2 separate regions of the Homo sapiens genome follow, and region 1 is linked to region 2. Evidence: promoter capture Hi-C in 16 types of primary human blood cells and fetal thymus (Javierre and others, 2016). All regions are on one chromosome and are shown on one strand. Each heading gives the region's core, a stretch centred on a gene start or on the middle of the fragment in contact. The rest is flanking DNA. Distances are from core to core; before and after follow the strand shown. Region 1 holds the start of KCTD21 (potassium channel tetramerization domain containing 21). Region 2 holds the start of CLNS1A (chloride nucleotide-sensitive channel 1A).

The links. The method cuts DNA at HindIII sites, captures the fragments that hold promoters and counts their contacts. A CHiCAGO score of 5 or more calls a contact.
Region 1: the fragment with the promoter of KCTD21 here is called in contact with the fragment with the promoter of CLNS1A in region 2 in 1 of 17 cell types (erythroblasts); the score reaches 5.8 in erythroblasts.

Annotation. Positions count from the first base shown.
Region 1 is chr11:78,186,717-78,190,001 of GRCh38, reverse strand. KCTD21 (potassium channel tetramerization domain containing 21) reads left to right here and starts at 1,376. Exons shown (of 2, transcript NM_001029859.3): 1 at 1,376-1,429. It overlaps USP35 (ubiquitin specific peptidase 35), which reads right to left and starts at 1,083. Exons shown (of 11, transcript NM_020798.4): 1 at 845-1,083. RefSeq lists silencers at 730-889, 1,320-1,659. The HindIII fragment of the contact is 4,363 bases long and covers 347-3,285 here.
Region 2 is chr11:77,636,396-77,639,781 of GRCh38, reverse strand. It overlaps CLNS1A (chloride nucleotide-sensitive channel 1A), which reads left to right and starts at 1,988. Exons shown (of 7, transcript NM_001293.3): 1 at 1,988-2,192. The coding sequence starts at 2,068. RefSeq lists enhancers at 1,847-2,086, 1,741-2,260. The HindIII fragment of the contact is 10,516 bases long and covers 1-3,386 here.

The DNA of each region.
Region 1 (3,285 bases), core at 127-2,626, 550 kb before region 2:
CCCTCCCGACACCAGGTGGTGCCCTCCATCTCTGGCCCCTCAGGTGTCTGAATGGCAGCATCTCTCTAGGTATTTTTTAACTGAACTTCTACCCAAGGCAACCCTGGGAAGAAGTGCTTCACCCTACTCCGGGAGGCCCATGTCTGGGCCACCAAACTGTCTCCTGGAAAGAAAAAGAAAAAAGGGTTTCACTGGTAAAAAGCAGCTGCTCTTCCTCAAAGGATAAGGAGGAGAGAGAAGGGAAGAAAGCAGGAGCAGCTATTCCTCCTCAGGAACCCACCACACACACCTATCCCTGCGGGGCCACCCCTCACAAACCTGTGAGGGCCGCACTCCACCCCAAGCTTTCTGGAAGGAAGGGCACCAAGCTGACACATCAGGGTCTCCGGTTTGCAAGGGCCAGGGCCGTAAGAGGGGGTTGGGGAGGGTATCCCAGGGCCCAGCACACTGAGAATAGGAAAAGCCCATTCCAAGCAATGGTGGCCTCGGGCCCCCCAGTTTGTGCCACCTCCCTCCCTCCAGTGCACCCGCGCCCAGCCCACGCTTGAGCTGGAGGGCCCCACGAAAAGCCAGCAAGCGAATGTACTAGGTACTGGGTGCGAATGCCCTCTTACCTGAAAGGGGAGGGAGCAGGATCACTTCGACATACAATTGATGAAGGGAGGGGATTAATGCCCAGAGAGGAATAGCTACTCGCCCAAGGTCACACAGTGAGGCCCAGGAGGCCCAGGATGCACCCAGATCTCCCGACTCCCAGCCCTGGGCTCGCAAGTCCAGGGTTCTCGAAAGGCCAGGGTGCAGACACCGCCCCCCAAAGACAGTCACACGCCCCCAACCCCCTTACCTCCCGGACCCCGGTGGGCCAGAGCCGGCTGCTGGGCGGGGCGCTCAGGCCGGGCAGGACGAGGCTGGGCCCGGCTAGGTCAGGGCTGGTCCTCTGCTCCCCCCAGGGTGGGGACGCCCTCAGCCAGGTCCCAGACGGAAGAGATGCTGCTTCCACTGCAAAATCCAGTCTTCCCACCCCGCCTGGCACAAGCCTCTATGTATCCAGGAAGCCCGACTCTGCGGCGCGGCCCCGGGGCTGCGGGATGAAGCATGGGGAGGGGCGAGGTGCGTGAAATGGGGCGGAGCCGGAGCGGGGGCCACCCCGCGAGCTGCCACTCTGACCGCGTCCCCTTTAAGGCCAGCCGGCCGGACACCGGCGGGGACGAGGCGGGGCGCAGAGCAACTCGCTGCAATGCCTCCTGGGAGATGGAGTTCGCTCTCGACGCGCCGAGCTGCGAGGAGCCCAGAGAGAACTACCAGTCCCGGAAGGCAGCGCACAGACCCCGGACCGCCACGCCCCTGGGCTGGGCTCCTACCCTCCGCCCCCCTCGCAAAGCTGCGCTGGCCGCTCGCGGAGGGAGAGGCTGCAGAGCGAGGGCAGGAGGTGGGTGCGGCACGGCCGGGGTCGCGGGGCTCGGGGACTACCGGCGAGGGTACGTGGGCCCACTGAGCACCTGTCTTACCATGAGACTAATCTATCCCAGCCTCGCCATTCCCATCTGTGAAATGGGGATGGCATCGCCTGTGGTGCGGGGGAGGGGGCGCGTTTCGGAGCGAGGTGAGCCGAAGTGGGCAGAGCTCTTAGAGGGGCGGGGCTGTTGGGAGAGCAAGGGCGGATGGTGATAGTCGGAAAAGCCCGGATAATGAGGGTCGGGACTGTGGGAGGAGTCCTTGGTGGGTGGGGCAAGGAGAGGCGGGATCTCTAGGTGGGGGTGGGGCACTTGTCAGGTCGGAGTGGGGGCTGTAGGGCTGGGGAGTGGGTGCGGAACAAGCCGATGAGGCCAGCCTGGGTGAGATTGGGGAAGGAAGGGCGGAGACACAGATGACAGGGAACTTGCCCCGCTCTGGAGAGCCCTGGGCCGGCCGCGCTGTGGCGGCGTGGGCAAAAGCCTGTGATGCATAGAACACCTCCCTTTACTGACTGGAAATAAAGAGTCCATCCCCGAGTTCAGTGCGGCACACCAGTGATCTCATTGACCTCCCACGCCCTGAAAAGTAGAGGCGTCACTATAGCGGTTGACAGGTGAGGAATGTGAGGCTCAGAAAAGCGAAGGGACTTGCCTAAAACCACTCAGGACTCCTTACTTCAAAGACCTTGCTTTTCTCCCTGCACTCGGGGAGGCAGAGGTTTAGCTTGGCGTGGGAGGCAGGAAAGAAAAGTTTTGATGCCCCGACCTTCGCAAATTGTCTGGCAGGACCAGTCCCCCCAACCCTTCCGAATGACAGCCTGTAAGGCAGCCCTCCTATAGTACTGTGAGGATGAAATGAGATGGATTTGAAAGCACGGTGTTTATAAATTACTGTTTGGAGGAGACATAGGAAGAGAGCGGTTTGAAATGGGGTGCTGGTGCCGGAGGAAAAGCACAAGGTGAAGCGTGAGAGTGAGCCGAGAAGGTGAAGGAAAGTTCTGGAAGGGGCTGGGGGATGGTAGTGGTTGTTGGAGGTCTACGCCAGATGAAAGAATACCTTGCCGTGCCAGATTCCGTGGTCTCCTTCTTCCAGCCCACCTTTCTCTCCTCCTGCCTTTTGCGCAGCTCATTCTGGGGTCCCTGTGTCTAGGAAGCACCTTTTCTCTCCTCCCTATGGGTTGTGATGGTAATAGAGCAGCCTTCGGATTTCTTAGAGATATGGACTGGGCAAGACAGAATTATAGACGCAGCTCTTTGATGTGGGGTGGTCAGGAAGAGGAGGTGAAGAAAGGGTAGTCGTCCTAGGGGCTTCAAGGCAAAGAGTCCTTTCTCCGGTGGGGTAAGGTGGGGAAGTCTCCCACTTACTGGAAAACACAGTACTCACTCTGAGCATTGTCTTTTTTGAAATTTACCCAGCCACGTGCTGTCCATTCCCTTACGCAGTGGAAACTCTCCTTGCATTTACTCCCAAGTAATCACCTCGGCCTTGTCACATCCCTTTAGATTCCAGATTGAAAATTGAACAGAGCATTTCAAAATTAAAAAGTTTTGAAAATCCAGGTGGGGAAAATGGATCTGACTAAACAGGAGAGAAATTTCTTCCTCTTCCCCTATTCTACGTGCTTCTGTGGATATAGAAAGGGGCACCCCCAGCCCCAGCAAGGGAGCCAGGCATCCATCTACTTAAGTAAAGTTGGCTGTGGTAAGGGGTTAGACTAAAATTCTCCGCAGATGCAGAGGAGAAGGAATGAATTCCAGCTGAGAGACCTGGCCGATGCATGGGATTTGTCTTCAAGGTCCAGGCAGAGGGGATGGCAGATGCCAAATTGCA
Region 2 (3,386 bases), core at 739-3,238:
TTTTTTTTTTTTTTTGAGACAGTGTTTCGCTCTTGTTGCCCAGGCTGGAGTGCAATGGCGTGATCTCGGCTCACCGCAACCTCCGCCTCCCGGGTTCAAGCAATTCTCCTGCCTCAGCCTCCCGAGTAGCTAGGATTACAGGCATGCGCCACCACGCCAGGCTAATTGTGCATTTTTAGTAGAGACGGGGTTTCTCCATGTTGGTCAGGCTGGTCTCGAATTCCCGACGTCAGGTGATCCGTCCGCCTCGGCCTCCAAAATGCTGGGATTACAGGCGTGAGCCATTGCCACCGGTGTATTACTCTTTCTCTATTGCAATTCCCCTGTCTTGATAAATAGGCTCTGTCTAAGCAGCAGGCACGGTGATCCCATTGGGCAGTTACAACAGGGTTGTATGTAACTGGGTTACAGGGTTGTAACAGGGTTGCTGCTGTAATGGCCCAATGGGTTCACCTTGCCTGTTGCCTAGACAGAGCTGATTTATCAAGATGGAAATTGTAACAGAAAAACAGTAATTCACGCAGAGCTGCTGTGCAGGAGACTAGAGTTTGTTGTTGTTGTTTTGAGACGGAGTCTCTCTCTGTCGCCCAGGCTGGAGTGCCAAGGCGCGACCTCGGCTCACTGCAAGCTCCGCCTCTCGGGTTCACGCCATTCTCCCGCTTCAACCTCCCGAGTAGCTGGGACTACAGGCACCTGCCACCACGCCCGGCTAATTTTGTTTTTGTATTTTTAGTCGAGACGGGGTTTCACCGTGTTAGCCAGGCTGGTCTCGATCTCCTGTCCTCGTGATCTGCCCGCCTCGGCCTCCCAAAGTGCTGGGATTACAAGCATGAGCCACTGCACCCGGCCTAGAGTTTTATTTTTACTCAAATCAGTTTCCCAGAGCATTCAGGGATCAAAGTTTTTTTGTTTTTTGTTTTTTGTTGTTTTTTTTTTTTTTTTGAGACGGGGTCTCGCTCTGTCGCCCAGGCTGGAGTGCAGTGGCGCTATCTCGGCTCACTGCAAGCTCTGCCTCCCGGGTTCACGCCATTCTCCTGCCTCAGCCTCCCCAGTAGCTGGGACCACAGGCGCCTGCCACCACACCCGGCTAATTTTTTTGTATTTTTAGTAGAGACGGGGTTTCACCATGTTAGCCAGAATGGTCTTGATCTCCTGACCTCGTGATCCGCCCGCCTCGGCCTCCCAAAGTGCTGGGATTACAGGCGTGAGCCACCGCGCCCAGCCAGGGATCCAAGTTTTTAAGGATAATTTGGCAGGTTGGGGAAGGCCAGTGAGTCAAGAGTGCTGATTGGTTGGGTGGGAGATGAAGTCACAGGGAGTTGAAGCTGTCCTCTTGCGCTGAGTCAGTTCCTGGGTTGGTGGGGAGGGGGCACAAGATCACATAGCCAGTTTATCCATCTGGTGGTGCCAGCTGATCCATCAAGTGCAGGGTCTGCAACATATCTCAAGCACCGATCTTAGGTGCAGTTTAGGGAGGGTCAGAATCTTGTAGCTTGCAGCTGTAATTTCTAATCTAAACCATAATTTCTAATCTTGTGGCTGATTTGTTAGTCCTACAAAGGCAGTCCAGTCCCCAGGCAAGAAGGAAGTTTGTTTTGGGAAAAGGCTGTCATCATCTTTGTTTTAAACTTCAAACTGTAAACTAAGTTCCTCCCAAAGTTAGTTCAGCCTATATCCAGCAATGAACAAGGACAGTTTGGAGGTTAGAAACAACATGGATTTGGGTAGGTCAGATCGCTTTCAGTGTCTCAGTTATAATTTTGCAGTGGTGGTTTCACTGTGACAATCCTGAGGGACTTCCCACAGAACCCTCAGTTATTGAAGCCCAAAGCCTCAGAAATGGCGAGGAAGAAGGGGAAGGGTGTTGCGCGGTCAAACTCCACACGTTCTTAGCCGACCTCCGCCGCTTTTCCTAGAATGTCTCATCTCTATGGTCGACGGCGTTCAGATTCCGGGGCAGACTAAGTTGTTCTTCCGGGGTGACTGCCTCTTCCAGGGCGGGCGGTGTGGTGCACGCATTGCTGTGCTCCAACTCCCTCAGGGCCTGTGTTGCCGCACTCTGCTGCTATGAGCTTCCTCAAAAGTTTCCCGCCGCCTGGGCCAGCGGAGGGGCTCCTGCGGCAGCAGCCAGACACTGAGGCTGTGCTGAACGGGAAGGGCCTCGGCACTGGTACCCTTTACATCGCTGAGAGGTAGGGTTCCTGGTCCCCAGCGCTGGCCTCCTGCGCGCCGCCCTCCTCCTTGCTGGAGCAGGCGGTGCGAAGGAGCCGGGCAAGGGGCGGCCTGGAGGCCTGCTGGGAGCGGGGTCTCGTGCCCGACGCCTCAGGGATACCTGTAGCGGGTGGAAGGCTCGATTTTTCTAGTACTCCTCCGGAGTCTTCCATTCTCTGTTTTCTCCGGCCGGAATTTCCCCTTATGGATTGTGCTTTTTTTTTTTTTTTTTCTTTTTTTCCTCTTTCTCTTTCTCTGTCTCTTTCTCTCTTTCTTTCTTCTTCTTTTCTTTCTTTCTTTCTTTTATTTTCTTTTTTTTTTTTTTTTAACTCGCCTATTTACTGGAGGTCTGGCGCGTGCGTTGCCCTTAACGCACGGTCTGGTTTTAAGGGTCTGAAGTGTGCCTGTCTTTCCGGATGAACAGATGCAGGAGATGTTCCCCTCTCTGGGATACGTAGTTTCAGAGCCGACTGTGGAGGACTTTTAAAGTTTGGTTACACAATAAAGATTTTCTTCTGTAGGTATAGTAAGGAGAGGAACACCCTTAACTCGACACAGACAGGGGTCATATGCAGAGGGACCAGACTCCCGTTTTGGGGTCCTGGAAGGAATTGCCCTTTTATTTGGCCACGTGGAGCACTTTGGTATTTTGACAGTCAGATAGATCTACCGTAAATATTGTGGTTGTAGAACAGAGGTCCCTGTTTCCTTGACATGCAGTTTTCTTTATTTTGAAGCCTGTAATGACACATCGAATCTTTCCTGCCCTTCAGATATGTGTTGCTTCCCCTTTTGCTCCATCACTTGTCTACAGCCAGAGAAAATTCTCTACTTTTAAGAGCTCATGTGATTACTTTGGAACCACCTGTAAAATCCAGGATAATCTCCCTATGTTACTGTCGACTGGTAACCTTAATTACGTTTGTGAAGTCCCTTTTGCTGTGTAATATAACATATTCACCCGCATGACACCAGAAAGTGAAGGTCGTGGGGCCAAAATTCTGCCTACTACAGAATCCAGAGCACAAAAACTGTAAAGAACCTCTGCTTTAAAGGGAAATTTAGACATTGAACAAGGTTTAGGCTTCAGGCCAGAAACTGAGATAGGACATATGGATGGGAGGAAAAGCAAGATTGAGGTGAGAGGCAGATAATGAGTTTGGTCAGGACATGTG